Linked DNA regions of Homo sapiens: region 1 is linked to region 2. The links are contacts of gene promoters, found by promoter capture Hi-C in human tissues and cell types (Jung and others, 2019). All regions are on one chromosome and are shown on one strand. Each heading gives the region's core, a stretch centred on a gene start or on the middle of the fragment in contact. The rest is flanking DNA. Distances are from core to core; before and after follow the strand shown. Region 1 holds the start of KCNE3 (potassium voltage-gated channel subfamily E regulatory subunit 3). Region 2 holds the start of DNAJB13 (DnaJ heat shock protein family (Hsp40) member B13).

Region 1 (3,581 bases), core at 60-2,559, 520 kb after region 2:
GTTTCTTGTCTTGCTTCCCTCTTAGAAGGTATTTTGAGCACTCGCACATTAAGTTTATGGATGTGCTTTGAGACGTATAGACTGAGTGAGGGATGGAGAAGGTGATGGTTATCATCTCAAGGAGTCAAGAAAATCTGAAAGCAGCTTCTAGGCCCCCAGCATGGGTCTTCCTCCATCAGGAACAGACAAAGTGGACGGATGCAAGGAAATAAGGAGGAGCTCACACGTTTACAACATGCCTTTGTAGGTGAAGTGGAGAGAGCCCTGGGCTAGGACTGAGGAAACTTGGGTTCTAATTCTGTTTGGTCTCTGTTGTAACCTTAGGTAAATCATCTCCCCTGGGGCATCAGTTTCCCTATATGCAAATTAGTGGAGAGGATTTTAGGAGGGATACTCTGGTGGGCTTTCACGCAAGAACTAAACTCATTTATTTTCGAGATAAGAGACTCTGAGGTCCAATCCCCCTTTCCCCTTCTGTCCCATGGGGTATGCAGGCAACAGGAGCAGGAGGCCCGTTTTACAAATGGTGGCCCAGGAAAAGCGAGCACAAGGCGCAGAGCTGAGGGATGACTGCCCGGGTTTACACAGCCTGTAAACTAGAACTCAAGTCTCCCGACTCCCAGCCTCGACCTATGTTACTGGCAGCAGAAGATGCTTTTGGGAGTCACCAGGTTTCCCGGGACTAGGTCAGACAGGGTGAAGGACACAGTGAGGTGTAGAGGGAATGGGCAAGTCAGCTCCGCAGAGCCGGTGGCTCCAGCCAAATGAGACTGTGCTGGGTCCTGAAATGTCGTTTCTGCGTGTGCACTGGCTGCCAGCTGCAAGTGTTCGCTTGCACGTCTGTGGGTGTGGAGGAACTTTTCTTGTGGCCGTCTTGAGGGCTGGGAATAACGGCGCAAGTCCCCACGGTTTCCAGACGGGGCGCGCAGAGCCCAGCTCCCTACTCCCACATGCTGCTCCACGATCACTGCGCTCGGGAGGATCGGGGAGGATCCGGGAGGACTAGCTTGGTATTTGCAGCGCCCACCCCTCCCCCACTCCCCCTCGGTTCCACAGTCTCACGGAGAGCGCGCCGTGGCCCTTGGAAGGGAGGCGGGAAGACCCCTCATTTCCACCCCAGGCCGCAGCTCAGCCTTCCCAGCTGGGTGGGTGCCTTACCTGCCTCTCAGCAAGGCTCCGGGGCGCCCGTTTGCTCGCTGGACACGGCGCCCTCTGACCGAGGGTGGCCCAAGCGCTGCGACCCTGTGCATTCCACCAGCCCCGTTCCACTCCGCGGGTGCCCAGCACCGCCCAGCGCGCTCTCTGGCTCTGGGCTCCCACCCGCGCTCGGCTCCCTTTTCCCTCCCCCGGGCGTCCCCTCCCCCTGCCCCGCCCGGGCCCCAGCACACCCACTTCTCCCCGGGCTGGCCTGGAGTGCCTCCGCCCAGCTCCTTGGCCTCCCCCGGCTGTGGGCTCCGACCCTTCCGTCCCCTGCAGCGCCTGCTTCCTGGACCAGAGACCGAAAGCCTCTCGCTCCGCTGGGCCTCAGCAAGCCCAGCATGAGGCCGATCTCCAGGAGTCGGTTTTGCTCCAGTGTGGCTGTGTGGTGGTGGGCGAGTCGCTGCCCCTCACTGGGCCTTGGCCTGGCTGTAAAGTTGGTACAGTTCCTCCATGCATTCTTCACAGGCTTATGGTTGAGGTCAGATGAGACCTTTGAGTCCAAAGTATTAAAACCAAAGGGTCAACAGCAAAATAATATGATTCTTACACAAACTCTTTTCCACACAGGACGCAGAGGCCCAGTTGGAGAAGGGATTTGCCCAGGTAGCAGAGCCCAGACCCAAAATCCACTACACACCCCTCTGTCTCTGAGTAGCACCAGCAAATGTTTCCTCCACCAAGCCTCAAAAGTTCGTGACAGTGCCTGACCAACTTGTGTTCAGCCGCACCTTACTCATCTCTGTCCCAGAACAGTTTATTTTCCCACCACCATGCCCTCACTCAAACTGTTGTTTCCTTGCTGGTGACATTGCAGGCTTCAGAGAACTGGGGCAGCCGGGGCAGCTGAGGAATAAGAGCCAGGAGGCTAGTGGCAGAGGAAGGGACAGTTGCAGAGAATTTCTCCGGGGGACCCTGTGGGGTGCCCTTTTACCAGCTCACTGCCTCAGAATAATTAATAACAGCCTCAGGCCAGCTCTTTCACTCCCTTGCAAAGGTCTGCTCCAGGATATCTGAAGCACATACTCTCAATTACAGAATCCCAGAATATATCTAAGAAGTGCTATCGTTTTAAAAAGACCTACTACAAGGTGGGTATATTGTATATTGTATACAATATACAAGGTGGGTATATTGTACCCACCTTGTTTTGACCCTACTATTCCTTTTTCTCAGTCTGGAGATCACCTCTCAGAAAAGTCATCCTAATCACCTAAGCATGCAATCTCAGTTTCCTTCCTTCCTTCCTTTCTTTCTTCCTTCCTTCCTTCCTTCCTTCCTTCCTTCCTTCCTTTAGACAGGATCTCACTGTGTCACCCAGGCTGGAGTGCAGTGGAGTGATTATGGCTCACAGCAGCCTTGAACTCCTGGGCTCAGGTGATCCTCCTCCCTTAACCTCCTGAGTAACTGGGACACACCACTATGTCTGGCTAATTTTTGTATTTTATAGAAATTGGGTTACTCCATGTTGCCCAGGCTGATCTCGAACTCCTGGGCTCAAGTGACCTGCACACCTCCACCTCCCAAAGTTCTGGGATTACAGGCATGAACCACTGTGCCCATCCTGCAACCTCAGTTTTCAATCTGCCTAAGAATCCCCTGGGGAGCTTGTTTTACTAAGTAGACTTTTGGGCTCCACTCCAGAGGTTCTAATTCAGGAAATCTGGAGTAGAGCCTAGAAATCAGCATTTTCAAACAAGATTTCCAAATGACTCTGATGCAAATGGTTCTTGAGACTAGCCATGAGGAAGCAGTCCTGGCTTGGTCAGGGTTCTTTCTCAGATCCTGCCCACGGCCTTGCATTTACTCTGTAGGACTGTCTATGACAGTTATAGAAAGTAACCATTTGTCCACCCCATCTGCTAGGTTGTGAGTTCTTTGAAGATAGGGATTGTCTTTTGTTCTAATAAAATCTTAGAACCAAAGTCTTAGAATCATATCATCTTAGGGTTCTGGAATGTAAATTGGAAGAACTCTCAAGAGTTTCCTAGTCAAATCCCTCATGAGCCTAACAGATTCTCCCATTTCTTTATTTTTGGAAACATATCACCCAGGCTGGAGTGCAGTGGTGTGATCTCAGCTTACTGCAAACTCTGCCTCCCAGGTTCAAACAATTCTTGTGCCTCAGCCTCCTGAGTAGCTGGAATTACAGGTGTACCACCACACCCAGCTAATTTTTGTATTTTTAGTAGAGACGGGGTTTTGCCATGTTAGCCAGGCTGGTCTCGAACACTTGACCTCAAGTAATCTGCCCGCCTTGGCCTCCCGAAGTGTTGGGATTACAGGTGTGAGCCACCACACTCTGCCTCTATTTCATTTTTGAAATGAGGCTATCCAGCTTCTCTTGCACACCTCTAGGGAGCTCAATGCCTGCAAGGCAGCCA
Region 2 (3,563 bases), core at 144-2,643:
TACTCAGAGAGGTGGAGCATAACTCCCTCACTGTAAGGGTGGGCCGCACAGTGACTGCCTTCCAAAGAGTGCAATACAGCAAGTGGGGAAGGAGGGCTGGCGCGGTGGCTCACGCCTGTAATCCCAACACTTTGGGAGGCTGAGGTGGGTGGATCACTTGAGGTCAGGAGTTTGAGACCAGCCTGGCCAACATGGTGAAACCCCGTCTCTAGTAAAAATAACAAAAATTAGCCGGGCATGGTGGCACATGCCTGTAATCTCAGCTACTTGGGAGGCTGAGGCAGGAGAATCGCTGGAACCCGGGAGGCAGAGGTTGCAGTGAGCTGAAATTGTGCCACTGCACTCCAGCCTGGGCGATGGAGTGAGACTCCATCTCAAAAAACAAAAACAAACAAACAAAAAGAAAAACACCAAACAAATTCCAATTGCAGGACATTCTACAAAACACCTGACCATTATTACTTAAACTGTCAAGGTCATCAAAAACATGGAAAGTCTGAGAAACTGTCACAGTCAGGAGGCACCAGAGGAGATGCAACAGCTAAGTGTAACGTGGCATCCTGGATGGGGTCCGGAACAGAAATAAGATATTAGGTTAAAACAACTAGTAAATCTGAATAAAATGTGGATTTTAGTTAATAATAATGTATCAATATTGGTCATTATTTGTGACAAATGTACCATACTAATGTAAGATGTTAATAATAGGGGAATGTGAATGCAGTGGCTCACACCTGTAATCCCAGCACTTTGGGAGGCCAAGCCGAGCCCAAGAGTTCAAGACCAGTCTGGGCAACATGGTGAAACCCCATCTCTACAAAACATACAAAAATTAGCCAGGCATGGTAGTGCACGCCTGTGTCTCAGCTACTTGGAAGGCTGAGGTGGAAGAATCCCTTGAGCCTGGGAGGTTGAGACTGCAGTGAGGTGTGATCCTGCCACTGCCCACCAGCCTGGGTGACAGAGTGAAGACCCTGTCTCAAAAACATGATAATGATAATAATAATAATAAAATAGGAGAATGTGGATGTGAGGTATATGGGAACTCTCTGTACTGTCTTCTCAACTTTTCTAAACTCTAAAACTGTTCTAAAATAAATGTATTTTTAAAAAATTAGCCAAATGCATTTCTTCTAAAACCTTTTTATTAAAACTAATTACTGCTCTCTTTAAAAACAAAAACAAAATAAAACAGAGCCCTGTGAGTCTTCAATTTCCGAGTTGAGTGACCTTTCACAGGGTCGCAGAATCAGCCCCAGCTCTCCCCCAGTCCTTTCACTGACTCCTCTCTGTGGCAGAGCTGAAATTTGTTTAGGGAAGTGGGACTACAACTCCCAGAGTGCACCTGTGCGGTTGTCAGGAGCAACCAAGGAAGCCAACTAACAGCCTTGCTAGAGTCTGAGGACTATCCAGGGCCTGACTGCCAGCTAGCCAGCCATGGGCCAGGATTATTACTCTGTGCTCGGGATCACTCGCAATTCAGAGGATGCCCAGATCAAGCAGGCGTAAGTTGGGGTGGGAGCCAGGCCTTAGGGGTGTGCTGGGGCAGGCCCTGCCCTCTTCTCTTCCAAAACGAGCTTTCCTGCACAGCTTAGCGCAGACAAGGTAAACCTTGTTCCTCCTTTCACTTCTTGCATACCTGTATCCTGGCTTTGGTCTGGGTCAGGGCCCAGGTTGGAAATTTGAACTCTTTAGTTCCTCAATCTGCTCCCAACCCATCTCCCTTTATGCTCCATGCCCTATATCCTCTCCTGGGTGCCTTGCTTTTCCCAGCAATGAAGTGGGGACAAAGGAGCCATTTGAACTTTATCTTGAATATTATGGAGAACCAGAGGCTTGTGAACAAGGGAGTGGCCAGGCCAGATGGATGTTTTAAATTCAATTCTGGCCATGATGGAGGTTTTCAGCATTGACTAAACTACATTCCTGAATACTTCCATCGGATCTTAAGGACGTTCTGGCTCGTTCCTAAGAAAGCCTACAACAGGAGTCAGTACATTTTTCTGAAAACATGTTTTTGTTTTTTGTTTTGAGACGGAGTCTTGGTCTTGTTGCCCAGGCTGGAGTGCAATGGCGTGATCTCGGCTCACCGCAACCTCCACCTCCTGGGTTCAAGCGATTCTTCTGCCTCAGCTTCCCAAGTAGCTGGGATTACAGGCATGCACCACCATGCCCAGCTAATTTTGTATTTTTAGTAGAGATGGGGTTTCTCCTTTTTGGTCAGGCTGGTCTCAAATTCCCGACCTCTGGTGATCCACCCGCCTCAGCCTTCCCAAGTGCTGGGATTATAGGTGTGAGTCACCGCACCTGGCCAAAAACATGTTTTTTTTTTTAACAAATATTTATTGAGCGTCTACCACAAGGGTTGAGAGGGTACTTCACTCCTGCTGCAGTGGTAGCAGCTGGAGATAAATGTCGGAATCCGACATCGACACTCCCTTACCTCATGCAGCTAGATTTTGTTGCTGAATAGATGTTGAATAAGTCACCACAACTGTGATGAGTGTTACAGAAGAGGAAGTATGGGGGGCTGTGGAAGTTATCTTGGAAGGAGAGAGACCCTTTAGGAGGCTGTTCGTGGTAATCAAGGCAAAAGATGAGGCCAGAGAAAGGGGAGGGAATGGACTTGGTAATTAAGTGGATCACTGGAGGGTGAAGAAAAGAGGAGTCCAGGATAACTCAATCAATTAAGTTAGGCAGTGACAATAGGTGTATGTTTTGAGTGTGTAGGTGCTGTTCTGAGAACTTTCCATCACTGTTTAACCCTCACAACAGCCCTGAGAATTAAGTGCCATTATTATCCCACAAGTGCACTAGTAAATGGTGGAGCCAGTGTTCAGATATCAGGCCTCCCAGAGTTGCCAGTCATGGGCCTATTCCTGGGCCAGGTCCTGTAGGGGATCAGTGGCATAAGTGGAGAGTCTGCGGTGTTGGAGAAAAAAGACACAAACTCATGAAAGGATCTGAGAACAATTCAGGACAGTGTATGATGTCACCCACTCTTCGGAGCATCTCATTGACCAGAAGGACCCATCCAGGGAAAGGTAATCAGGAGGAAGGGCAGTGGGCGTGCAGAAAGATAAGCACAGCTTAAGCACTGGAAAGGGCTGGATCAGAATCCAGATTCACTTACCTGCTAGCTGCGTGACCTGGGCAAATTACTTAACCTCTTTGAGCCGAAGTTTTCCCATGTCTAAAAATCATCATCATAATAAAGGTTGCTGTGAGATTGAAATAGGATTAGATGAGATAATGCATGTGTCCAGCAATCATTTGCATGTGAAACCATGTCATATAAAGAGTGATTAAGGCCTGGCATGGTGTTTCATGCCTGTAATCTGAGCACTTTAGGAGGCCAAAGCAGGAGGATCCCTTGGGCCCAGGAGTTTGAGAGGGCAGCCTGGGCATCATAGGGAGACCCTGTCTCTACAGAAAATTTAAAAATTAGCTGGGCATGATGGCACACACCTGTAGTCCCAGCTACTTGGGAGGCTGAGGTGGGAGGATTGCTTGAGCCCAGAAGGTAGAGGCTGCATTGAGCTATGATTGCACCACTGCACTCC

The links. Contacts are between HindIII fragments. The study calls those that stand out against the background at their distance.
Region 1: the fragment with the promoter of KCNE3 here is called in contact with the fragment with the promoter of DNAJB13 in region 2 in 1 of the 25 tissues and cell types used here (dorsolateral prefrontal cortex).

Annotation. Positions count from the first base shown.
Region 1 is chr11:74,466,240-74,469,820 of GRCh38, forward strand. It overlaps KCNE3 (potassium voltage-gated channel subfamily E regulatory subunit 3), which reads right to left and starts at 1,310. Exons shown (of 3, transcript NM_005472.5): 1 at 1,159-1,310. The HindIII fragment of the contact is 14,037 bases long and covers 1-3,581 here.
Region 2 is chr11:73,949,633-73,953,195 of GRCh38, forward strand. DNAJB13 (DnaJ heat shock protein family (Hsp40) member B13) reads left to right here and starts at 1,394. Exons shown (of 8, transcript NM_153614.4): 1 at 1,394-1,505. The coding sequence starts at 1,438. The HindIII fragment of the contact is 16,389 bases long and covers 1-3,563 here.